Regions from separate parts of the Homo sapiens genome. Here region 1 is linked to region 2. The links are contacts of gene promoters, found by promoter capture Hi-C in human tissues and cell types (Jung and others, 2019). All regions are on one chromosome and are shown on one strand. The core of a region is centred on a gene start or on the middle of the fragment in contact, and the rest is flanking DNA. Distances in the headings are between cores, read along the strand shown.

Region 1 (6,188 bases), core at 1,806-4,305, 810 kb before region 2:
CTGTTGCACTATGAAAAAGGTTTATCATTTAAAGAATATAAGAAGGCAAATATAGGTACTGGAATGTCTAAGCATTCACCAAAATGCATACTTTTTTTTTTTTTTTTTGAGACGGAGTTTCACTCGTTGCCCAGGGTGAAGTGCAGTGGCGTGATCCTGGCTCACTGCAATCTCTGCCTCCCAGGTTCAAGCCATTCTCCCACCTCAGCCTACTGAATAGCTGGGATTACAGGCATGCGCCACCACACCTGGCTAATTTTGTATTTTTAGTAGAGACAGGGTTTCATCATATTGGCCAGGCTTGCCTCGAACTCCTGACCTCAGGTGATCCACCCATCTCGGCCTCCGAAAGTGCTGGGATTACAGGCGTGAGTCACCGCGCCTGGCATAAAATGCATACTTTTAAACTACATGTACAGTGGGCAAATTCCTACAACGCCTTTACACATTTGTAGTTAGGACCAAGTTCTATAAACCAACCTTATGTCTGCTCAAAAGTTTGAAATTTCCCAATAATTGTAGTTTTACTTTGCCAACAACATTTAAGCAACCTGAAAATACCTACAAATTGAACAGGCATTCAAGAGGAGCCGCTTGGGCTGCATCACCACTATCAAGACACTATGGAAATTACCTAATGATTGACTTTCAGAGAAAATCTTCAGTCTCACAAGAAAATCTGTCTTTCGTCACCGTTTTTATAAAGTGATCAAGACAAGGTCTCACTACGTTGTGACAGTTATCACAGACTTTATATATGTTACTTTATATTTTTCTGAGACAGGGTTTTGCTGGTCTCAAACACCTGGGCTCAAGCCATCCTCCTTCCTCAACCTCCCAAAGCGCTGGGATTACACGGTGAGCCACCATGCCTGGCAATTGCATCATCTTTTTTGATCATTTCGTTCAGCATCTCGTTCATCGACTGAGAAGTGACCTGAAATAACTTCCAACCATTAACATACCCTCCCTCCTCCCAAAAGAACAAACCTCTAGCGATTAGGTCGCACACTCATGCGCTCTCACACGCACACAAACCCGGTCCTTTCCCTCCTCATTACAGTACCATGGGCAAGTCACCTCCACCTAGAAAGGTCTGTCTTCTCATTAGCAGCTGTTCATGTATTTTGTTTAAAGCAAAACACCTGGAGTAGATCACAGATCTAAAGATATTAAGCAATTTTTATTCTAAATTTTACTCTAAAAGTCATCACATTCTAAACACTGTGATGGCCAGGCATGTTGGCTCATGCCTGTAATTGCAGCACTTTGGGAGGCCAAGGAAGGAAGATCGCTTGAGCCCTGGAGTCGGAGACCAGCCTGGGCAACAGAGCAAGGCTCTACAAAAAATTAAAAAATTAGCCGTGGTGGTGTCTGCCGGTAGTCCCAGCTAGTCAGGAGGGTGAGGCAAAAGGATCGCTTGAACCCAGGAGGCGAAGGCTGCAGTGAGCCGAGAACTGTGCCACTGCACTCCAGCCTGGGTGACAGAGTGAGATCCTGTCTCAAAAACAATAAATAAATTAAATAAAGACTGTGATAAATGTCTTAACAGCAATTCCCCAAAAAAGCCTTTAAACCCTTTTGATCAATGGCCCACGTCCACTCCTACAGCCTACTAATCTGTTCTAGAGTAGTAAATTCTAGTATATTGTAAAAAATACAAAGTGCTACTACACACCATTTTATTTTTCAGTTATTCATATTCACTCTCTTCCTCTTCAAAGTTAAATTCCCAGATACAAGTAGGCAAGAAGATTCAGCACTAACAATGAGACAATCCACCTGGAAAACAGGTAAGTATGGGAACTCAAATTGAAGCAGATTATCTAAAACACATCAGCTTACACAGTAACAACAAATCCAAAGAGCTCGAGCGAGATGACCATTCACAACGCTGTCAATGGCAACAACAGTTAAAAACAGAAGGCCACAGGTGTTGGTTAGCAGGCTCTTCGGGGAAGGTGAAGGAGGTAAAGAATCAAAGGAAGTTTCCAAAGAAAATAGCGATTAGTGCTGAAAAACAAAAAGGAGGGATGCAATTTGGGTTACCAGAGAAAACTGCTTGTAGAAACCAGTACAATCTCCGAATCCTTCGCAATACTATAAAATAAGCATCCTCATTGCATGCCAAGTGCTTCTTTAACCTGTAATCCACCCCGTCCTCTCCCTCAAAATCTGCGTTAAACTGAATTTTAAAAACATTTTAGGGGAGGGGGTAAGCAGTTGGTTTCCCGCTTGACAGTAATTGTGGCCACGGAGCGCGAAGCTCCACACTCCACACAGCGCGCCACCCACAGAGGCGCTTCTCAAAAGTTGCCACCCATCTTGGCCACGAGTCCCGGGACACGGACTCGCCTCCTCCGACGACGGCAGCCGGGACCGGCCGGGATCCGGGAGCCCAGCGCCGACCCTCTCCCCTCTGCGCGCCGCCGCCGCCGCCGTCAATCAACGCCCCCCTCCCAGGGACTCGGCCCGGGGGCGCGGCCCGGGGCGGGGCGCGATCGCGGCGCGTCGAAGGGGCCCCCAACAGCCGCCAGCTTGCGGAGCAGCGGGACCGCCGCCCACGAAACGAAAGTTGCCCGCGACCGAGCCCGGCCGACGGGGGGCGGTCCGTGCGCGGCCGGAGAGAGGAGCGGCGCCCCGACCGGGCCTCCGGCCTGCCTCGCTCACCTCTCGGGGTGCGCCGCCTTCCTCCGCCGCTGCCGCCTCCTCCTCCCTGTGAGTGCAGCGGGGTCTGCCCTGTGGAACCACCATACCAGTCCCGCCCGCTGCTGCAGCGCCGCCACCGCCGCCGCTCCTCTGCCGCCTTAGTCGCTGCTCTTTGTTCCCCCTCCGAGAGCCACTGCTTCGGCTGCCCGCCTCAGCCGCCCCGACGGGCCGCCACTACGCCCTCCCGCCCTCTCGGCCCCCGGCCTCGCCCTCCTCGCTGCGCCCGCCGCTGCCTTCGCCTCCGCGCCGCCGTCGCCGCCGCCACCGACGCCGCCGCCTCCTCCTCCGCGCCCCCCTCGTTTTCATTGAAAGCAAACAAGCATCATGGCGGCGGCCGCCGTCCCTCAGCCAGCGAGCGCCCGGACCGCCGCCGGCGCTCCAACATCCTGGCCGCTCATTGGGCGCCGTCGCCGGGCACAACCATCCGCCCTTCGGTGCGGGGGTCGCTCCCGGCACGCAGCTGCCCAGGCCCCGCCCCCTTACCCCCGCGCTGGAGAGCGGTGGACCGGCCCGGCGCGCTGCGGGCCCTGCCTCCCTGCCTGCCGCCCTCCATCCCTTCCTCTCCGTCCATCCTTCGTCTCCTTCTGTTCCCGCTCTCCTCGCTCCTTTCCTGCCTTGGCACTTCTGTTTTCTCCTCTCCTTAGCGCTCCTCCATTTTTCATCTACTTCTTTTTCCGCCCCAGGTTGTCCACTTTTTTTTTGTTTTTTGAGACGGTGTCTTGCTCTTTCACCCAGGCCAGAGTGCAGTGGGGCGATCTTGGCTCACTGCAAGCTCCGCCTCCCGGGTTCACACCATTCTCCTGCCTCAGCCTCCCGAGTAGCTGGGACTACAGGCGCCCGCCACCGCGCCCGGCTCATTTTTTGTATTTTTAGTAGAGACGGGGTTTCACCGTGTTAGCCAGGATGGTCTCCATCTCCTGACCTCGTGATCCGCCCACCTCCGCCTCCCAAAGTGCTGGGATGGCAGGCGTGAGCCACCGCGCCCGGCTGGGTTGTCCACTTTTATCTCCTCTTTTCCTTGATCGTCCTCCCCTTTTTTTCTCCTCTTCCTTTTCCTTAAGCCTTCGCCTGTCAATCACGTCGAAACACAGTATTTGACCGGAGCCAGTATCTTGATCTGCCTAAAGACAAGACATTCAATCGTGAACAGTCGAATATTATTCCTTCCTCAATTATACAAAGAAGAGTAAGTTAACATACCACTTCAGCCTATTAATGGTAATTCATTCCATTACATTAATGGACAGTTTTGGTGCTGGGGTCCTAGCCTGGGTAACGGACAGCAGCTGCTGTGCTCCAAGATCAAAAGGTGTTCAGGGCAAACTCTGGTGTTTGAAGGTCAGCAGAGAAATGACTGGGCTGATTCATGATGCTTACATCAAGAAATATTAGTTGACTGATGGTCAGGGCACAGAGATGAATCAGACCCCACCCAGCCCTGAGTAAGCTCACAGTCTAGGGGCAAGAATAACACCCAACAGACTTAATATTGGAGGTATATTGGTCGGGCGCGGTGGCTCACGCCTGTAATCCCAGCACTTTGGGAGGCCGAGGGGGGCAGATCACCTGAGGTCCGGAGTTGGAAAACAGCCTGACCAACATGGCGAAACTTCGTCCCTACTAAAAGTACAAAAAATTAGCCAGGTCTGGTGGCTTGCACCTGTAATCCCAGCTACTCGGGAGGCTGAGGCAGGCAGGAGAATCATTTGAACCTGGGAGGCGGAGGTTGTAGTAAGCGGAGATCGCACCATTGCACTCAGGCCTGGGCAGCAAGAGCGAAACCCTGTCTCAAAAAAAAAAAAAAAATTTGAGCTATATGTTGAAGGCGTGAAGGAAAAGGAAAGCTGCCTGCCCACCTATGTGGCAAACTAGGATAGGCTGCTAACTGCTTCCTGGAAAATCAACCCTGAAGAAATGAGAGTGAGACAGGTTCCAGGAACTAACAGTAGCAACAAACCGAGGCTTCTGCTTCAGTGAAGGCTGTTGAGAGCTGGGGATGTGGGAAATGGGTTGCTGTTGCCTGGGGTGGAGGAGACCTGGCTGGAAGGGCAAGGAAAGGATGAGGGACAAAAGCTGTTCAGAGGTGAAGATGATCCCCCTCTCCCCAGCACGGCCTTGGGATGGTCATCGCTTGGCACTGCCATGACATCAGGAGTGACAGCCCAGGCCTCTAGCGCCATAGGACACTGGGCAAAGACAGAGCAGTGCAGAAGTTTAGGAGTCAGGAAGAACACATGTAGACCAGTAAGCTGCCTGTGGCCATCCCTCCACAACCTCCTCCTGTACAGCAGGGAGTTGTGCGGCCCTGTGCTGTACAGAGTATCCCAGGCTGAGGGGCCAATGGGACAGACACCCTGCAGGGCCTCTCCTCCCTGTGTGAGTGCCCTGGCCGTCTGTGCTCCAGCCTGGGTGCCTTTTTGTAATTTGGCCAGAGGCAGCTACCTCAGCCCGGTGCGGGGACTCAACGCCTGTAATCCCAGCACTTTGGGAGGCCGAGGCGGGCAGATGACTTGAGGCCAGGAGTTCGAGACCAGCCTGGCCAACATGGCAAAACCCCGTCTCTACTAAAAATACAAAAAAAAAAAAAAAAATTAGCTGGGTGCAGTGGCGGGCACCTGTAATCCCAGCTACTTAGGAGGCTGAGGCATGAGAATCGCTTGAATCCAGGAGGCAGAGGTTGCAGTGAGCTAAGGTTGCGCCATGGCACTCCAGCCTGGGCAACAGAGCAAGACTGTCTCAAAAAAAAAAAAAAAAAAACTCAAACAAAACAAAACAAAAAACAGAGGGAGCAATTCCCTTGTGACTGGCACGACTGTATGGAGGAGGGGAGGTCTTGTTGCACAAAATCTTGGTAGCATAAAGCAACAGTTTTACTGTATCTCATGATTCTGATGTTCACCCTTGGGGCCTCATGCCTATACCAAAGGTGGCAGCTGGGTGTTGAATGTCTGGCACCTCGCTGCCCCCTAACGAGGCCTCCCCCGCAGTGTCTCATCCTTCAGCCTTTGTGTGTGGCCCCTTTCCCCAGCAGGAGGTGATCCTGCACTTCCTACATGACAACCAGGGGCTCCAAGAGGAAAGCGAAGCTGCCAGGCCTTCTGAAGAAGGCCACTTCCTCAATATTCTATGAATTAAAGCAGGCACAAGCCCAAGCCAGATTCAAGAGGAGAGGACATAAGCTGTGGAGGAGCTGCGCGTGCATGCAGGGCGGGGTGGACTAATTGGAGCCCTCTGGGGAGACTTGCTGCCACCAGGAGGGTACGATAGTGGCTCTGCTGTGCATGCCCTTTTCTTTCTGCATATCCGAGGAGAACCCCGCAAAATACCTACTCACCCTTTCAGGCCAGATCAAAGTGCCCCTCATGTTAGGCCAGACCTCCCATTGCAAGTTATAAAACTCACAACTCAATATTTCTTTGCAAGAAGGAGGGAATTGAATTGAAAGAGGGAATGCTGAACCATTCAGGCATTGTAAGGTG
Region 2 (5,646 bases), core at 2,587-5,086:
CAGGAGAATTGCTTGAACCCAGGAGGTGAAGGTTGCAGTGAGCTGAGATCATGCTATTGCACTCCAGCCTGGGCAACAAAAGTGAAACTCCATCTCAAAAAATAAATAAATAAGTAAAATAAATTTATTAAGGATGAGCTTGCTGTTAAAAATTTAAAACAACAACAAAACAACAGCAAAAACCCCACAATTTAGACACGCTACCACTATGGCTAAAATTAAAAAGGCTTGGCCGGGCACGGTGGCTCAAGCCTGTAATCTCAGCACTTTGGGAGGCCGAGGTGGGTGGATCATGGGGTCAGGAGATCAAGACCATCCTGGCTAACACAGTGAAACCCCGTCTCTACTAAAAATACAAAAAAATTAGCCGGGCGTGGTGGCGGGCACCTGTAGTCCCAGCTACTCAGGAGGCTAAGGAAGGAGAATGGTGTGAACCCGGGAGGTGGAGCTTGCAGTGAGCTGAAAAAAAAAAAAAAAAAGGCTTACTAGCTGGGCCCTGTGGCTCCTGCCTGTAATCCTAGCACTTTGGGAGGCTCAGGTGGGAGGATCCCTTGAGCCCAGGAGTCTGAGACCAGCCTAGGCACCACGGTAAGACCCCGTCTCAAAAACGCCACCACCACCTTTAATTAAGCGAATTTTTTAAAAATGAAGGTTTACCAAACCAAGTGTTGGCCAGGATACAGAGAAACAGAAACTTTCACTCACTGTTAGTGGCTTAATAAAAAGGTAAACATGCACCTGCCATATGACACAGTCATTCTATTCCTAGGTGTTTACTTAAGAGAAATGAAAGCATATGTCCACACAAAGATGAGCAAAAATGTTCAGAGCAGTTTTATTTGCAATAGCCCCCAAACTGGAAACAACCCAAATGTGCATCAACAGCTGAATGGAAAAACAAATTGTGTGGTGTTTCCATACAATGAAATACTACTCAGCAATAAAAAGCAATGAACTGTTAATAAATGCAACAACATGGATAAATCTTAAAATAATTATGCGGCGAGAAGCCAATGCCAAAAAAAATCTATACTGAGGCTGGGCGCGGTGGCTCACACCTGTAATTCCAGCAGTTTGGGAGGCCGAGGCAGATGGATCACTTGAGGCCAGGAGTTTGAAACCAGCCTGGTGAATATGGTGAAACCCCATCTCTACTAAAAATACAAAAATTAGCTGGGTGTGGTGGCAGGCACCTGTAATCCCAGCTACTTGGGAGGCTGAGACAGGAGAATCACTTGAACCCAGGAGGCAGAGGTTGCAGTGAGCTAAGATCATACCACTGCACTCCAGTCTGGGCAACAAAGTGAGACTCCTCTCAAAAAAAGAAAAAAAGGTAATGGATACCTCCAGATGGATACATTATCTTGATTTTGGGAATGATTTCACATAACAAATTATCGAAATACTTCACATTATACATTATAAATATATGTAGTTGGCCGGGCGCGGTGGCTCACACCTGTAATCCCAGCACTTTGGGAGGCTGAGGTGGGCGGATCACAAGGTCAGGAGATCGAGACCATCCTGGCCAACACGGTGAAACCCCATCTCTACTAAAAAAAAAAATACAAAAAATTAGCCAGGCATGGTGGCGGGTGCCTGTAGTCCCAGCTACTTGAGAGGCTGAGGCAGGAGAATGGTGTGAACCTCGAAGTGGAGGTCGCAGTGAGCTGAGGTAGCGCCACTGCACTCCAGCCTGTGCGACAGAGCGAGACTCCGTCTCAAAAATAAATAAATAAATAAATGTAGTTGATTTTGTCACTTATACCTCAATAAAACTATTACAGAAGTTTCCTAGGAGGTGGCACCACCACCGGGCTCTGCCCCAGCTTGTGAGCTCCTGTGGATCTGGGTCTGTCCCTTGCAGTCAGGTGGGTGGGCTTAGTAGGTAGGACTGACGTCATTTCCTTCCACTGTCCGCACACGTGGCACGTGTCCTTCAAACATGCCCAGCCACTTCCCTCCTCTACCCCCAGGTCTTCAAGGGATTGGGGTCTCCTTATTGTTCAGGTTTTAGCAAGAATGTCAAGGGCCTTCACCGAGCACCACATCTAAATTACTTCCTACTCCTCACCCTGTCCCAAAATCACTTTCTGTATTTCCCTGGTTTGTTTTCTTCACTGTACGTATCAGAATTAGGGTTTTTTTTTTTTTTTTTTTGAGACAGAGTCTCGCTCTGTCACCCAGGCTGGAGTACAGTGGTGTGATCTCGGCTAACTGCAACCTCTGCCTCCTGGGTTCAAGCGATTCTCCTGCCTCAGCCTCCCAAGTAGCTAGGATTACAGGCATACACCACCATGCCCGGCTAATTTTGTATTTTGAGAAGAGATGGTGTTTCTCCATGTTGGTCACGCTGGTCTCAAACTCCCAACCTCAGGTGATTTGCCTGCCTCGGCCTCCCAAGGTGCTGGGATTACAGGCGTGAGCCACTGCACCCGGCCAATTTTTTGTATTTTTATTAGAGACAGGGTTTCACCATGTTAGCCAGGATGATCTCGATCTCCTGACCTCATGATCCGCCTGCCTCAGCCTCCCAAAGTGCTGGGATTACAGGCGTGAGCCACCGTGCCCGGCCTGGATATTCTTATTAATTTAATCATTCCTTTTTTTTTTTTTTGAGATGGAGTTTCGCTCTTGTTGCCCAGGTTGGAGTGCAGTGGCACAATCTTCGCTCATTGCAACCTCTGCCTCCCAGGTTCAAGCAATTCTCCTGCCTCAGACTCCTGAGTAGCTGAGATTACAGGCACCCGCCACCACACCCGGCTAATTTTTTCTATTTTTAGTAGACACGGAGTTTCACCATGTTGGTCAGGCAGTTCTCGAGCTTCTGACTTCAGGTGATCCACCCACCTTCCCCTCCCAAAGTGCTGGGATTTACAGGCATGAAACATCGCGCCTGGCCCTCTTTTTTTTTTTTTTTTTTTTAAACACAGGGTCTCTATCGCCCATGCTGGAGTGCAGTGGCACAATCACTGCTCACTGCAGCTTTCACCTCTTGGGCTCAGGTGATCCTCCCACCTCAGCCTCTTGAGTAGCTGGGACTACAGTCGCATGCCACCACGCCCAGCTAATTTGTTTTTGTAGAGATGGGGTCTTGCCATGTTGGCTAGTCTGCCCTTTCATTTTCATCATCTATCCTATTATCTTCCTCCCTCCTCAGCTGGCGCCCTACTGAGATCCCTATCACTGGTGGTGCACCCATCCCATAGGTGCTGTAGGAGCTGGCTGGTAACTCTCAGCTGCCCTGGCCAATAACTGACATGTAGAAGGAGGGTACAAAAGACGGGCTCCCTTGCTTTAAGGAGGCCTAACTGTGGTGCCATTTGTGCTCAGAGTTCCCCATGAGAGCAAGCGGAAGCTAGTCTCCACGTGAGACCACACTCTGGCTCAGCCTTAGCCTTTTTCTCGCCCTGTCTTGCTTCCCTCACCCCCTTCTCCTGAGAGCATTTCCCCAATAATTCACTTGAACAAGAATGCTCAGCTTAGGCTCTGCTTCTAGGGAACCTGACCCATGACACGCTCTGTTAGCTTCCTGAGAGACTATCTTGTTAGTTCCCCTAGAACAAATTCCTGTCTTGGACTCTGCTTATGATCACTCCCTTCATTCCCCTGCCAAGAATGACAGCTCAGTGAGGGAATATGTTCTTCACTTCCCTAGAACTGTTCCTAGAACACAGTAGGTGCTCAATGATGCACTGAATGCATGCAGGGGAGAGCCCAGAGTCTATCTGACAGCTCAGCGGTCAGCACCCCTTCTTGTCCTGGGGTGGCCTGGCCTGGAGGCATTGTGAGTCATAGCAGGTGGACAAGAGCTGAGTGGGTCAGAGATGGGACTAGCCCTGGGACAGCAGCTCAGCAACTCCACCCCATCTTCCAGGTGAGGCACAACATACAGTGAGGACTAACGGGGAAACATCCTCCGAGAAGATACAATCTCAAGGGTGGGCCTGGATGTGGGCTTCCAGAGACCATCTCCCTGAACCAGATCTTGGGGATGGTATGTACCATCCAGCCTCTGTCCACCTATATGTGAGGGATAAGTGTATTATGAATTAACGAAGGCATAACAGAGGGAACCCTGCTCTAGTTCTTTCTCTTCTCACTGCCCATGGGCAGAAGAGGAATTAGAAACAACACATAGCTCCCTTTTTCACATAATAGAATCAGCACTTACTGGGCAGGGGTGGGGGGTGCAGAGAGAAGTGAGCAAAATGGGACTTGTCTGTTATCTGGACTTTGGACTTCCTGAGGGCACAGTTTGTTTGGAATAAAAGTCATGTTTAGTGTGCACAATCCCTGATACTTTGAGCCCTATGCATAGGTCTAGCCCATGGCACACACCCCAGGATGTCAGTGAACACACTGGACTGTGGTCTATACACGCATCTGTCTTCCAAGCTGGATTAGGAGCACCTTGAGGGCAGGCAGAGGCTGTTTCAGGTCCCCTTCCCAAGACCAGAGTCTGGCACAGAGCAGATGCTAGTTCAAGTCTATCAAATGACTGAATGATGAGGGCAATAATGCTGTTGGCTATGCTAGATATCCTCCCAGATTGCTTTCAGAATCCAGATCTAACCCCGGCTTTCTAATCCTTCAGCAGTTCCCTCTTACCCACAAAAGGAAGTCTAAGCTTCCGAGCCTGCCTGTAGGGCACCTTCACATAGTGCACTGGTCCACCTTCCCAGCTTCCTCTTCTGCTCTTCCCAGCACCAATCCTATCCAAGCTCGTGTTCACATCTGAAATATGAAAGTCCTGCCCTGCCGGGTACAGTGGCTCACACCTGTAATCCCAGCACTTTGGCGCTGAGGCGGGCAGATCACCTGAGGTCCGGAGTTCGAGACCAGCCTGGCCAATAAGGTGAAACCCCATTTCTACTAAAAATACAAAAAAAAAAAAAAAAAAAAAAAAAAGGCCAGGCGCAGTGACTCATGCCTGTAATCCGGGCACTTTGGGAGGCCGAGTTGGGTGGATCACCTGAGGTCAGGAGTTCGAGACCAGCCTGGCCAACATGGTGAAACCCCGTCTTCACTAAAAATACAAAAATCAGGTGGGGGTGATGGCAGGCGCCTGTAATCTCAGCTACTCAAGAGGCTGAGGCAGGAGAACTGCTGGAACCCGGGAGGTGGAGGTTGCAGTGAGCCAAGATCGCGCAATTGCACTCCAGCTCGGGCAACGACAGCGAGACTCAGTCTCAAAAAAAAAGAAAAAGAAAGCCCTGCTCGGCTCTTCCCTCTGCCTAGAAGTTCTCCATTTTCCATCCTCAACCCACCTGGCAAAGTCCTACTCCTCCTTTAAGTACCTACTTACTTGTCTTGCTACCATTCCCTACCCCTCACCCTTCCAGCTGCAACTCAGAACAAGGCCCTCCTCCCGTCCTTCATCTGCATATGTATCCCAGGGCCTGATCCTCAGTGGTCTTTGGGGAAGATGGTTTAGGTGAGACTGCTGCCTGTGCAGCGTGGAACGACGGGCTCCTCGGTGGCCAGCAGCTGGTGAGACACAGCCGCAGCCGTAGCTGCAGGGCTAAGACATGTCCGCCGGCCTCGCGGTTTGAGAGGCGGCCTGTACCAAGCACGCTGCTCACCCGGACTCTTGTCTCCCAGCAGCGCCCCCTGGCTCGCCTTCATCATTCTGGACATCCGGGC

Evidence for each region. The method cuts DNA at HindIII sites, captures the fragments that hold promoters and counts their contacts. A contact is called where the count stands out against the background at its distance.
Region 1: the fragment with the promoter of CNOT6 here is called in contact with the fragment with the promoter of CBY3 in region 2 in 1 of the 25 tissues and cell types used here (dorsolateral prefrontal cortex).

What each region holds. Positions count from the first base shown.
Region 1 is chr5:180,491,246-180,497,433 of GRCh38, reverse strand. It overlaps CNOT6 (CCR4-NOT transcription complex subunit 6), which reads right to left and starts at 3,055. Exons shown (of 12, transcript NM_001370472.1): 1 at 2,671-3,055. RefSeq lists silencers at 2,286-2,545, 2,576-2,675, 2,846-2,985, 3,116-3,315. The HindIII fragment of the contact is 24,631 bases long and covers 1-6,188 here.
Region 2 is chr5:179,679,224-179,684,869 of GRCh38, reverse strand. It overlaps CBY3 (chibby family member 3), which reads left to right and starts at 3,836. Exons shown (of 2, transcript NM_001164444.2): 1 at 3,836-3,997; 2 at 5,605-5,646. The coding sequence starts at 3,952. It also overlaps a transcript of CANX not described here. The HindIII fragment of the contact is 4,632 bases long and covers 956-5,587 here.